2 separate regions of the Homo sapiens genome follow, and region 1 is linked to region 2. Evidence: promoter capture Hi-C in 16 types of primary human blood cells and fetal thymus (Javierre and others, 2016). All regions are on one chromosome and are shown on one strand. Each heading gives the region's core, a stretch centred on a gene start or on the middle of the fragment in contact. The rest is flanking DNA. Distances are from core to core; before and after follow the strand shown. Region 1 has its middle 23 kb from the start of TRA2B. Region 2 holds the start of AHSG (alpha 2-HS glycoprotein).

Region 1 (6,842 bases), core at 1,975-4,474, 650 kb before region 2:
GACCCCTGCTCCTGCTCACCATTCCCCATCCAGTTGGCAGAGTCATTTTTTTAGCCCTTTTTCTTCCTTACTTTCCCTTTCTCCACATCCAATCAATCATGAAGACCTTCTCAGTTTACCTCTTAAATTTCTTTCACTTTACTCCCATTGTCACCACCTGTAATAATTTGCTATGGCTGCCATAACAAAGTACCGCCAAGTTAGTGGCGTAAGTAACAGAAACGTATTGTCCCATTGTCTCTTGTTGGTTGGAAGTCGAGGTGTTGGCGGGGTTGGTTCCTTCTGGGGGCTACGAAGGAAGGCTCTGCTTCAGCCCTTTCTCCTTGGCTGGTAGATAGCCAGCTTCATGATCATAGGTGTTCTCCCTGTATCTTCACATTGCCTTTCCCCAGTACCTATCTGTGTCTCAATTTCCCCTTTTACCAAGGATACCAGTCATATTGGATTGGGACCCACCCTAATTATTTCATTTTACCTTGATTAGCTTTGTAAAGATCCTATCTCCAGGCCAGGCATGGTGGCTCACGCCTGTAATCCCAGCAGTTTGGGAGGCCGAGGCGGGCGGATAACTTGAGGGCAGGAGTTCAAGACCAGCCTGGCCAACATGGTGAAACCCTGTCTCTATCAAAAATGCAAAAAATTAGCCAGGTGTGGTGGTGCACACCTGTATGCCCAGCTGCTTGGGAGGCTGAAGCAGGAGAATCACTTGAACCTGGGAGGCAGAGGTTGCAGTGAGCCAAAATTGCACCACTGCACTCCAGCCTGGGCAACAGAGCAAGACTCTGTCTCAAAAAAAAAAAAAAAAAAAGAACCCTATCTCCAAATGAGGTCACATTCTGAGGTACTGGGGATGAGGACTTCACCATGGATTTTGTTGGTGGAGGGAGGACACAATACAACTCCTGACGCTGCCTCTGTTCAAGCCTTTAGTGTTTCTCACCTATGTCATTTCTTCAGGATAAGCTTAGGACTGTCCCTGCTTCCAGCATTGTCTTATTTCAACCCAGCCACTACTCTGCTGCCAGAAGATCTCATAATACTGCTGTGGCTGTTGGGATAAGCCAAGCTCCTCACCATGCCTAGCATGCCCTTTGTGTTCTGGGCCTTTGCTCTCCTTCCGTCTTATTTCCTGCTGCTCACATAGCATTGCTGCAGCCATCATGACCCTGTGGGATCATTGCCCTGCCTTTGGGCTTGGCTGTGTGAAGTTTTTCCTGCCTGCGATGGTTTCTCTCCCTACACTCCCTGAATAAATGACTCATGTTGGGTCTTCAGGCCAACTGCAGCATTATCTCCTCTGAGAAAACCTTCCCTAATTCTGGGTTTTGTGCTTCTCCTCCATGACTTAGGTCCCTTGAGTTTCCTTTGCCATTGCCCTGTACTACAGTTTTATTTATTTATGAGCTTAGCCCCCTTACAAGAGCCACATCACCAGGACATCTAGTTCAATGCCTTGTATACCAAAGGCACTCAATGCACATTTGCTGAACAAATAAATATGTGAGTGAATCAGTCTTCATTTAGAAAATTGCAGTGTCAGCCCAGGTGCAGTGGTTCATGCCTGTAATCCCAGCACTTTGGGAGGCCGAGGTGGGTGGATCACCTGAGGTTGGGAGTTCGAGACCAGCCTGAACAACATGGTGAAACCCCACTTCTACTAAAAATACAAAATTAGCTGGGTGTGATAGTGCATGCCTGTAATCCCAGCTACTTGGGAGGCTGAGGCAGGAGAATTGCTTGAACCCGGGAGGCAGAGGTTGCGGTGAGTTGAGATTGCGCCACTGCACTCCAGTTTGGGCAACAAGAGTGAAACTCCATTAAAAAGAAAGAAAGAAAGAAAGAAAGAAAGAAAACAGCAGTGTTGGCTGAGTGCAGTGGCTCATGCCTGTAATCCCAGCATTTTGGGAGGCCAAGGTGGGCGGACCACCTGAGGTCAGGAGTTCGAGACCAGCCTGGCCAACATGGTGAAATCCCCTCGTCTCTACTAAAAATACAAAAAAAAAAAAAAAAAAAAAAAATTAGCCAGGCATAGTGGCACGTGCCTGTAATCCCAGCTACTTGGAAGGCTGAGGCAGGAGAATCCTTTGAACCCAGTGGGTGGAGATTGCAGTGAGCTGTGACTGTGACATTGCACTCAAGCCTGGGTAACAAGAACAAAACTCCATCTCAAAAAAAAAAAAAAAAAAAAAAAGAAGAAGAAAAGAAAAAGAAAAAAAGAAAATTGAAAATTGCAGTGTCACAGTGAGTAAGTGGACTAGTGGTAACAGGAACAAGGAGGGGCACAATAAAAGGCGTGGTAATTGGAATGGGTTTATAATTCTCACCAGAGAAGAAACACAGCATTTCGGCTGGTGTCGCTGCTCCAGGGAAAGTTCTGTTACTCCACTGACTCTCTCTTTTCCTGATAACATGGCCAGCAAGAAAGTAATTACAGTGTTTGGAGCAACAGGTAAAAAGTCTTTAATTTTTAGGGCATGCTGACTTTGCTCACTCTCCTGTCTTCCTGTTTGTAACTTTAGAGCCTGCAAGTGTGGGCTGAACAAAGAGCTCTTTGGAAGAAATTTTTTAAAGTATCCTATTGCTTTAGTTCTTGATGTGGTAAAGGGGTGGCATGATTTGATTTGTAACTTGATCTCAGCAGGACAAGGACACTGACGTAATCTCCCTTTCCCAGTCATGGGGCTAACTGGTTGGTATAAGTCTCATTTCAACATAAGCTATACTCTGAAGTCTTCTCTCCACTCACTTCCTAATAAGCAAAAGGTACAAGTGTGAGGGGCCTGGGGGTTTGTAGTGAATATCCAATGCCTGACCAATCTTCCAGGGAGTCTGCAAGGATGGAGTGTGTGGGAAGTTTGCATTCCTGGCTCCCTTACAGTTTGTTCCTCAACAGTCAGAGCCATCTTTGCACAATATAAATCAAATCAGGTTTTTCTCCTTCAATCTATTCTCATTTCAGCCTCCCAAGGATCCATTTGAAACTGTCAGATCATGTCAGGCCTCTGCTCAAAACCCTCTAAAAGATCCCAGCCCCATGGCACTCCCAGTAAAGTGCAAAGTCCTGCTAATGCCCTGCAACAGGGCCTTGGAAATGTTGTGTCAGAACTCTCTTCCTGCCACCCTCCTCTCACTCCGCTTCATTACCCTGGCTTTCTTGCTGTTCCTCCAAAACAATCCCACAAATACAAAGGCTCTGGCCTTTGTATTGGCTGCTTCTTCAACCTAGAATGATCTCCCTCTGTTACTGATATAATTTGACTGTGTCCCCACCCAAATCTCATCTTGAATTGTAGTTCCCACAATCCCTACATGTCATACGAGTGACCAGGTGGAGATAAATGAATGCTGGGGGCGGTTCCCCCAGCCTGTTCTCATGATAGTGAAAAGAGAGAGTTCCCTGGTCCTGGTCCCCCACCACAGGGTGTGCCACAGGGGTGTGGCTCTCTGTTCTGCCACTGCAAGCTCAAACTCTTTAAGAGATGGGGAGCATGCATACCGGTAGGTGCAGGAACTGGGGCAAGTGCTTTTGGGCTCCAGCCCTATGGCAGCATCTAGGGGTGGGTGTCTGTAACTTTCAAAGCCCAAGTGTGCATGTGTTACAGTGCACTCTTTTAGCCTTGCCATCCACAGATGGCTTAAGGGTTAACCAGCTCAGTGAACCCTCTGCCTTTTTGCAAAAGGAGGGGGCTAGTGTGACAACTTTCTGTATCCCAAGCCCTCATCCAGCATCCCAGAAGAATCAGGTCACACATGGACTTGAAGGATGAATGCAGGGGTTTTATTGAGTGGTGGAAGTGGCTCTCAGTGGGATGGTTGGGGAGCTAGACAGGGGATGGAGTAGAAATATGATCTTGCCCTGGAGTTTGGCTGTCCAGTGGCTGATTCTCCGAACATCCTCAGCCAAACTCCTCCTGACGTTCCTTCTCTTCTCTCCTCTGCTGCACCATTCTGCCATCTGTTTGTCTCCTTGTCTCCTAGTCTGCTTCTGGAGCCTGGGGTTTGGGGCTTATATGGATACAGGATAGGGGTGGTGGCAGGCCAGAAGGCAACTTTTGGGGTGCAAAAACAGGAATGCCTATTACTTAGGGCAGCAGGTATCCAGGCTTAAGGGTGGGGCCTTTGCCAGGAACCACCCTCTTCTACCCAGTATTTCCCTGTCTCCTGTTCGTATCAATAGTGAGTTCGTTCTCATGAGATCTGGTGGTTTTACAAGCGGCTTCCCCCTTCACTGGGCCCTCATTTTCTCTGCTGCCACCCTGTGAAGTGGTGTCTCCCGCCATGATTGTAAGTTTCCTGAGACCTCCCTAGCCATGTGAAACTGTGAGTCAATTAAACCTCTTTTCTTTATAAATTACCCAGTGTTGGGTATTTCTTCACAGCAGTGTGAGAAAGAACTAACACAGTTACCCACTGCTTTCCCCCTCATGCCATTCAGGTCTCTGCTTAGATGTTACCTTTTCCATGGGGACTTTCCAGACCTCTATATTTGAAATTGCAACTCTGCTTCCACCCTGCCCATGTCTGGCTCCCTTCCTTACTTCAATTCTTCTATTTCTGCCTGTCTTTCCACACTAGAATATAAGCTCTATGAGAACAGGAATTTGTCTGGAGGAAGTCAAGGGCTAAAGCAGGAAGCAGAGTGAAATAAATTCTCAAAAATCAACAGTCAAGTATGATATTAAAAGGAGAAGAAGAGGCAATGGAGCGGGGGATGACTCTATTAAGCGTTAGGGTGATGGTAAAGATGTTGGCTTTTCCTGAAAGAGAAAAGTGATCGAAGGGTTTGGTTTTTTCAGTGTGTTTGTGTTTAGCTACAGGGTCTCACTGTGTTGCCTGGGCTGGAGGGTAGTGACTCTCCATCCCAGGAGCCATCATAGTACACAGCCTCAAACTCCTGGGCTCAAGTGATCTTCCCACCTCAGCCTCCCAAGTAGCTGGGACTGCAGGATTGCAACAGCATACCAGACACTGAAGGATTTTGAGCAGAGGAATCACATGACTTTGGTGTTAAAAGGATCATTTTAGCTTATGCTTTGTGAAGGGACTATAGGGGATAAGGGCTGAAGCAGGAAGACCTGTTAGGAGGTGGTTGTCATAAAATAGGCGAGATGATAGTAGCTTAGACCAGGGTGGTAGCAATGAGATTGTGGAGAGTGGTCAGATTCTGTGGAGGTTTTAAAAGTTGTGTTGGCAGGATTTGTTGGTGGACCAGATATCAGGGGTAAGAAGGGAAGAGTTGAAAATGACTCTGAAGTTTTATGGCTTGAGTAACTGGAAGAATAAAGTTGAGATTCACTGAAATATGGGAGACAGTGGGGAGGAGGAGGTCAGGAACTCCTTAAACTTGAATTGGTCTCATTAAACTTGAGTTGCCAACTAGGCATCCAGAGACTGGGTAGGCAGTTGGATAAGATTTTTGGGAGTGGCCAGTCACTCTATTAATTCTGTCTTCTAAATCTCTCTGATTTTTTCCATTCTCCCTCTTAGAAGCTTTTTCCACACTCCATTTGCCTTCTCTCCATGTTCCACCTTTAAACAGAACCATCTTTCAAATCTGATTAATTTTTCAAACCTTGTAGACAGCTAATACCACCTTGTATCACATTCCCATTCTCCTTCATTACTGCTCAAGATGTAAGCCCCTCTGGTTATTAGTCTCAACCCTATATTTCGCCACGCATCCTTTCCTTGACCCCACATCTCAGACTCCCTTGCCTACAAAACCTTCTCACGGTACCCTTCTGTTCCAACATCAACATCTTGCTAAATGCCCCCTCAACCTCTTTGAATAAATGGTCACACTTGACTTTTCTCTCTCAATCCTCCCTGTTCATCATCACCACATCCAGTTAATCACCAAAATCCTGTTGATATCATCTTGTCAAGGAAAACTGTGAAGGCCCGGCGCAGTGGCTCACGCCTGTAATCCCAGCACTTTGGGAGGCCGAGGCCGGCGGATCATGAGGTCAGGAGATCGAGACCACCGTGAAACCCGGTCTCTACTAAAAATACAAAAAAAAAAAAAAAATTAGCCGGGCGTAGCGGCTGTCGCCTGTAGTGCCAGCTACTCGGGAGGCTGAGGCAGGAGAATGGCGTGAACCCGGGAGGTGGAGCTTGCAGTGAGCCGAGATCGCGCCACTGTACTCCAGCCTGGGTGACAGAGCGAGACTCCGTCTCAAAAAAAAAAAAAAAAAAAAGGAAAACTGTGAAAGACTTTGAAATGGGAAAAAAAGGTTGCTGGGTGTCCATGCCCAGGGCACCGTTCTCACTTTTGTGAGCCTTTCCTTGTTTTTAAGATATCTATAACTCTATAAGTTGTAGCAAATAGATAATAACGCAACCGATTCTTGTCCATAGAAATGCAAATGAAGGCCGGGTGTGGTGGCTCATGCCTGTAATCCCAGCACTTTGGGAGGCCGAGGTGGGCTGATCATGAGGTCAGGAGTTTGGGACCAGCCTGGCCAATATGGTAAAACCCCGTCTCTACTGAAAATACAAAAATTAGCCAGTCATGGTGGCAGGCACCTGTAGTCCCAGTTACTCAGGAGGCTGAGGCAGGAGAATCGCTTGAACCCAGGAGGCAGCAGTTGCAGTGAGCTGAGATCACGCCACTGCACTCCAGTCTGGGCAACAGAGCAAGACTCTGTCTCAAAAAAAAAAAAAAAAAAGAAATACAAATGAATTGTGTCTGGTGGACCACAATTGATTATTGCCTGGTGGATATTGACTGGTTTTGTCCCTAATTGTACATTCATTTTAGCATTTTGGCATTCTTGATTGCCTACATATATGTGTGTTCTTTGAATTTTTCTTATAACATTGTACTGGTTCCCTCATTAATT
Region 2 (7,764 bases), core at 4,618-7,117:
AAATCCAGGCCCTTCCATTTTCTTGGCGTGTGATGTGGTCAAGTTCCAGAACCTCTCAGCCTTTTTTCCCTCTGTAAAGGAGGAAGGATAAGAATAGTTCAGCTCTCATGCCTTTTATGAATAAGTCAGTAACAGGAGCTATGATGATGCTGTTTTCCTGAGCAGGTGCTGTTCCAGGCCTGGAAAGCTCAAATCTCCCCATTTCTTTAACCGTGAAGTGATTCTCTTATAAGACAGAATGTTTAAGTGAGTGTCAAGGCCACACTAAACAGTATGTAGCAGTAAGTCTCCTTCCTATTGTACAAAAGAGAATGGAAGGTTTCCCATTGTTTCTTATGTGATGATGAAAAGTTTACTGCAAGGACTGCTGTGTTTTGGGGCCCATTGCACACATAGGATCACCAGCCCAAATGTTAAAAGAACTTCCCTTGAAAGAGAAAAAATATTTGATGAAGTAGAAACGTTTTTTCTTTTTTGGAGACGGGGTCTTACTCTGTCACCCAGGCTGGAGTGCAATGGCGCGATCTTGGCTCACTGCAACCTCCACCTCCCGGATTCAAGCGATTCTTCTACCTCAGCCTCCCGAGTAGCTGGGATTACAGGTGCGCACCACTATGCCTGGCTAATTTTTGTGTTTTTAGTAGAGATGGGGTTTCTTCATGTTGGCCAGGCTGGTCTCAAGCTCCTGACCTCAGGTGATCCACGCTCCTTGGCCTCCCAAAGTGCAGGGATTACAGGTGTGAGTCACCGCATCCAGCCAGAAACATTTTTTCTATCCTGGGTTTCGATTATGCCTCTTCCGCAGGGCAGGACAAAGGTACAGCAAGAGAGGCCTAGAGCACAACACTTAAGAAGCAGCAACCTCAAGGGAGAGGCCTCCTTGAAATTTGCACCTTTACCCACTCCCTTGCCCTACTCTAGTCCAGGCCTTACTGTTCCCTTTATATGTTCTCAAATGCAATTTCCTTTCTGGGGTTTGGATTTGCAGAGCTAGGTCCTGCTTATCAGGGCAGCGTTGGAGGAAGGCTTGCAGAGCCCTTTTTCCACCCCAAAAGATGGAGCCATTACTTATGGTCATTTTTGCCACCTGCGGTTGGGCCCACATCTCCCAACTTTGGTGCTGAGTACAAGGGGCTCTTCCTAATTATGGGTTGATGACTTCCAGGGTGCTTGGTGCTAAGTTACTTTCACAAGAAACCAGATGGGTCCTTGGACAAAGGTAATTTGCTTTCATTCACTGGTGCTTTGCATTGGCGAAGTAAATCCCAACCTGTCTCCACAGGAAAATATGATAATTTGTATAATAATATTATGATAGTTTCATATATTAACATAAAGTTCTTTGCTGATCAGGCATTGCCGGACTAAATGAGTCAAGATGAGCTCCTCCAGAGCATGTGGTTCTCATCACTCTGTGTCCAGGCATCTGATAACACAGATAGTAGGTGCTCAATAAATGTTTGTTCATTGAACATATGAATGAAGAAACACCCAGTCTTTGAGTGAAATTAATACCCAGTCTATCAGGGCCTAGGCCCTTTAAGTACCAGAAAGGGCAGAGCCATGAACCTGACCTAATGATTTAAAAACCAACCACTGCTATTTCCTCCCTACAGAAACCAGTTGTCCTTCTGGCTTTTGCTGACAGGCACTTTTTCATCTTCTGTTTTGTGAGAGGCTGGTTTCTAGCTATCACCTTAGCTCTTGCTGCCTGACGGGATATTTCATATCTTTCTATATCTATCCTCTCCCTCCTATACCCACATCCACTAATGGAACCAACCTCTGAGAAACTCTGACCCTGAGCTCTGACCCTGGTGATCTTTGTTGTTGTGGCTCCTGGCCTGCAACTATAAACACTGAATTCTGCCTTGGAATAGTTTAAATACAACACTTGCCCTAGTGGCTCCCTGGCAAAGAGTCCTTTTGACAAATTCAGGAACCCTGGTGCCATCCTTAGCTGCTGCTCTACTTTGGATGTTTGTCCCCCCACGTCTCATGTTGAAATGTAATCCCCAATGTTGGAGGTGGGGCCTAATGGGAGGTGTTTGGGTCATGGAGACAGATCCCTCATGAAGGGCTTGGTGCCATCCTGGTGGTAATGAATGAATTCCTGCTATATTATTTTCCGTGAGAGCTGGTTGTTAAAAAAAGAAAGAAAGAAAGAAAAAGCCGGGCATCTCTCCTCTCTCTCACCAAGAGCTTGCGCACGCCAGCTCTTCTTTGCCTTCCGCCATGAGTGGAAGCAGCCTATAGCCCTCACCAGAAGCAGATGCCGGTGTCATGCTTCTTGTACAGCCTGCGAACCATGAGCCAAATAAACCTCTTTTCTGTATAAATTACCCAGCCTCAGGTTTTTCTTTATAGAAACACAGATGGACTAAGACAGCTGCCATCTTGAGATTTCTGCCATCAGCCACACAAGGGTTGCACCCAGCAAGCACTGCCCGGCACCCTGCTGCCATCTCCTGGAGATTGTTGATCCTCTCCTGCTCCTTAGACTGTTGGGCCTGCTCTCCTTGACCAGTTCTAACAAGCCCTTGATATCCTCAATACACTATCAGCCATCATAGTGTGAATGGAATGAGGATTATTTTATTGCTGTGATGTGAGCCTCATAGAAAAATGCACAGAAAAGTAACTAAAATAATGCAGCAAAGGACCAGAAAATGGAGGAAATGCCTATCTCCTACTGATATGCAAAGAAGCTGGAGCCAGTTGGATCAAACTGACCCAAGATTACTCATGAGTATATGTATTCAGCACGTGAAGATCACTCATGAGTCCCATATACATTTGGCAAGTGAGAATCTTTTAAAGTTTAAAACTGGTGTCATCAGGCACAGGGAACTACCCATTGGCACTAATGCTACAGCCATCTTGGAAAACATACCAAAATATCATCTATTTTCTTCCTCATTTCCAGTAAGTAAATGGCAACATTTCTTTCTAAGGAAACTGAAAAAATCTAAGGGATCATTTTACTCAGCTTGATACCAAAGTTATTTTAGTTTATAAGTATTAGACATATGGAGTAGCTGTGATAAAAGCAAAGATATTCATAAATTACATTTTTAAAAAAGAATTCTGAGAGTGTTCACATATCTAAGTTCCCACAAAAGTCAGCATGAAAGCAGTAACAGAGGAAAAGAGAAAACAGCTGAGCTGACATCACACAACAGCTAAATGGAAGGGGGATAAATTGGCATAGCCAAATAGACTATTTGACTATAAAAATTAAGAGCTTTAAAAATGTGCAAATCATTAGAATCAATAATTTTACTTCTAAAAATCTATCCTGAAAAAAAGAATCAAAAGCCAAAGATTCCTAAATAAAAAAGTGTGTTTTTTTGTTTTTTTGTTTTTTGTTTTTTTTTTGTTTTTTTTTGTTTTTTGTTTTGAGACAGAGTCTCACTCTGTTGCCCAAGCTGGAGTGCAGTGGCACAATCTCCCCTCACTGCAACCTCTGCCTCCCAGGTTCAAGTGATTCTCCTGCCTCAGCCTCCCAAGTAGCTGAGATTACAGGCGTCCAGCACCACGCCCAGCCAATTTTTTGTATTTTTAGTAGAGATGGGGTTTCACCATGTTGGCCAGGATGCTCTCTATCTGTTGACCTCATGATCCACCTGCCTTGGCCTCCCAAAGTGCTGGGATTACAGGTGTAAGCCACCGTGCCTGGCCTGTAAACATGTTTTTAAGTCTACTTAATGACATAGGAAAATATTCAAGTTAAAGCAATAGGTGAAAAAATTTTAACAGCTGTATATGCAGTATAATCAAAATTATATTAAAATATTATTTTACATAGAAAAAAAGAAAAGATATAAATGCATCAAAACATTAACACTGTTTATCTCTGCATGATGAGATTGTGAATGATTTCTTTTTTGAGACAGAGTCTCATTCTGTTGGCTGGGCTGGAGTGCAGTGGCACTATCATAGCTCACTGCAACCATAGCCTACTCCAGGTCTTATGCTATCATCCTGCCTTCATAGTTGGGATTACAGGTGTGTGCCACCTTACCACACTTTATTCAATTTTTCTTTTTTTTGAGTCGGAGTCCCACTCCGTTGCCAGGCTGGAGTGCAGTGGCGCAATCTTGGCTCACTGCAACCTCCACCTCCTGGGTTCAAGTGATTCTCCTGTCTCGGCCTCCCGAGTAGGTGGGACTACAGGCGCGCGCCACCACGCCCAGCTAATTTTTGTATTTTTAGAAGAGACAGGGTTTCACTGTGTTGGTCAGGTTGGGCTCAATCTCTAGGCCTCGTGATCTGCCCACCTCAGCCTCCCAAAGTGCTGGAATTACAGGTGTGAACCACCGTGCCCAGCCCTTCAATATTTTTAAAGATTATATAAAGAAAAGCATAGCTTCCACACACAGTTCAGGAGTCAGGGCCCTGAGTGAAATGGAGTATAAGGTGATGGAAGATTGCCCCTGGCTTTGAGGATCATCTTGCTGGATGACCAGAGTTTGTTTTTCATCTGGAAGAATCATGGTCCCCCTCTTGGAGAGAACCTGGAGTCCTGGCCACACCTTCTGAGCTTCTGACATTAAGATTCGGTGTGGTGTGTGAGCAGCTGGGAGTAAATGTGAGAACAGTCCTGCCAACTACCTTCTCTGCCCCATCACCACTCACTTCACCTCCCTCACCCCGATTCTCACCCCAGAAAATCAATATTAAGCTTCCCTTTGGAGGGGCCCCTCTTCTTTCTTTTTTTTTTAACCAGTTTTTTTTTCTCTGAAGCAATATCAAACATTAGAACAAATTCACCCACACACAATGATGGCCTCTAAATATTTGAAGACCATGTTGGTCTCCATGAGAGGGCTTCTTTGCTTCAGACTAAACCAAACCAGGTCCTTGTGTGATATTTCCCAAGCCTCTCTTTATCCTGCCAACCCTCCTTGGATGTCACACTTGGAATTGTCAAGGGTCACTTAATAGGCAGTGCCTGGAGTCAACACTGGCCCTCTGTTCTGGCCAGAAAGACACACTGTAATTCTGCTGAGTCTGCAAAGAATGTTCAAGGGGTATTTGTGTCCGTAGCTGCTCGTGCAGCATCTCAGCCTGCGGTGTCAGACTCGAACCCAGAGCTGTGTCAAATGAGTCAGGACTCCCCTCTGCTGCCCTTGTGCACTGGCAGGGGCACTAGGTTACTAGTGCTAGGAGACTCTGGTCAGTGCCCATCTGTGCTGTCACATGCAGGGCCCTGGCAGTGAGGTCTGGAGAAGGAAGAGAAGGGGCAGGGAACCCCACACGTTTTGCTGGTCATTTCCCACCGTGGTCCTGCCACGGGAACCCCCTTCTTCCACCTCCATTCCCCACTTTAGGCAGAAACATCTCTCATCCTTTTTCTTTTCTCCAAGAATCTTCCCCCAAAATCTTGGCATCTCCTATACACATCTGTACCTTTGCTATATCTGTGGGCCTTGTTCTCCCTGTAGGACTCCTCTTGGAAAGCTAACTCCCCCTGACATTGGAGAATTTTATCAAATTGCTGAGTATCCTCCCTTCCCTCTCACAGACCCCATGGCATGCTCAGATCACAGTAGAAGACATTTCCTCTGCTGCCAAACCCATGGCACTCTGAGGCTGACTGTGTCCACCTCATTCCCTCAGCTGTCTTCTCTTTGCTGCTATTACCATGTTCCAAGCAGACTTTGGAGCATCTCCCCCACAGCAGCATGGACTTTGGCAGATTTCTTGGGGACCAGCGATGTCCTAACCTGTTTGCTTTTCCAGGGCTGATGTTTGCAGGGTGTTTTTTTTTTTCTTTTGAACCAAAGCAGAAATCATCCTGTATCCTTATGCAATTCTTCCGGCAGGCTCCAACAGATAAATAAAGCCCACCACCCTCCATGGGTCTACCTTTCCCAGCAGAGCACCTGGGTTGGTCCCGAAGCCTCCAACCACCTGCACGCCTGCCAGGGCCTCTCTGGGGCAGCCATGAAGTCCCTCGTCCTGCTCCTTTGTCTTGCTCAGCTCTGGGGCTGCCACTCAGCCCCACATGGCCCAGGGCTGATTTATAGACAACCGAACTGCGATGATCCAGAAACTGAGGAAGCAGCTCTGGTGGCTATAGACTACATCAATCAAAACCTTCCTTGGGGATACAAACACACCTTGAACCAGATTGATGAAGTAAAGGTGTGGCCTCAGGTAAGTGGACCTGCTGTCTATGAGCTGAAATAATGTGTACATGGAGCTCAATCAGGTGCCTCAAAAAATCACCATCACCCAGTGCAAATGAAACCACAGAGGAGTAAATTCTCTGATTTCTTCCCAGGAGTGAGGGAAGGGGCAGGCAGAGGGCAGGAGAGGAGACATTCTGTATGGCAGTCATGGGTGTCAGGAGGGAGCTGGGTGGGGTGTGAGGTGGTGTGCAGGAGAAAAAGTGCTTCAAATGGTAGTGTGCAGATCACAGACAGAAAGTGTAACTTGCTGGAAAAACTAGGACCCAAGAGACCAGCTCCTAGTTGCCAAGTTACCACTGGCTGAAAATCACGTATCTGTCTTTGGTTTGGTTTCTCTCTAACAAAGACTGAGAATGAATAAAACTAGCATCTGGCAGATGCCTACTATATGCCAGGCCCATTCACATAGATTATCTCATTTACTCTTTCCCGGTCCTGCCTCCTGGTGCTGTGTGGTACATATATTGTTCTTGTCTTACCCAAGAGGAGACCAAGGCTCTGTTGTGTGTGTGTGTGCAGTTTTTTTGTTTTTTGTTTTTGTCTTTTTTTTTTTGGTCCAAAATCATATAATTACTAAGTCTTCAGGCTGGGATTTGATTCCATATCTGTGTTCCTTCTTCTACACAAACTGCCTCCCAAAGAGAGTTACCCACATCCCAGAGAGAAGTCTTGGCATAAACACAATTCACCTCCTCACACACTAGACAGGAAACCAACGCAGCTTGAAGCCAGTGACAAGAAAAATCAAGCTGGAAATATGCCTCGGGGATCAGTCAAGAGATTTGGAGAGGTGGAAAGAAGCTGTCTGCCTACTGCCTGTTTTGAAATTAGATTTATTTCTGATTAAGGACAATTCTTTCAGCAAATATGTATTACAAGCCTTCCTTGGACAAGAACCAGAGATATTAGGTTGAACCATATAAAACTGCCATTTTTCTATATCAAAAGCAACCAAATATTGGCCGTTTTAATGGTTCAACCTAATACAGTGGTGAAAAAGGCACAATATGTGCCCACAAGAGCTTACAATCTAGGTTGGAAAATAAGGTCAACAACAGGAAGCCTGGACCGACTGACGACTGCCATCCGTCTCACAAAGAGACAAAATATTTGAAATCAGGATTGCTCCGGATGGATTTTAAGAGTGCTGCAGCCATATTAAAGCACAGTGGTGGTTAGGAGGAAACGCTGATCAAGTCAGGGGAAATGAACACGCAACACGCACATCTGAGGGAAAAGGTAATCATGAATGGGCATTGTGACTTTTACTAAAGGCAGAGCTTCAGAGTTGGTTCCCTTGAGAAACCCAGGTGTACCCGGTTCCTGTTCGCCAGAGCTGTGAACGCTTTCAGGCAGTCACTCTGGGCACACCTGGACATCATAAAATGCGGAGCTTCTCCCAGGGGAGGGGATGCTGAGGCTTCAGGTACTAGTGAATCAGGCAGAACCAATGAGAGGCAAACAGAGCTGGGCTGAGAGGAGAAAAGGCATACTTGTACCTTCTGGATTTTTCAGGCTTCGAAGACAAGATACAGAAACAGGTGAACTCACAAGAATATCTCCAAGG

Evidence for each region. Contacts are between HindIII fragments. The CHiCAGO score rates a contact against its expected background, and 5 or more counts as called.
Region 1: a contact is called between a fragment that was not itself captured here and the fragment with the promoter of AHSG in region 2, in 9 of 17 cell types (non-activated CD4 T cells, activated CD4 T cells, total B cells and 6 more). The highest score is 12.6, in non-activated CD4 T cells.

What each region holds. Positions count from the first base shown.
Region 1 is chr3:185,957,630-185,964,471 of GRCh38, forward strand. It overlaps the pseudogene NMRAL2P. Among named protein-coding and RNA genes, the nearest start is that of TRA2B, 23 kb to the left of the region's middle. The HindIII fragment of the contact is 4,527 bases long and covers 962-5,488 here.
Region 2 is chr3:186,607,193-186,614,956 of GRCh38, forward strand. It overlaps AHSG (alpha 2-HS glycoprotein), which reads left to right and starts at 5,868. Exons shown (of 7, transcript NM_001622.4): 1 at 5,868-6,162. The coding sequence starts at 5,950. The HindIII fragment of the contact is 5,898 bases long and covers 4,683-7,764 here.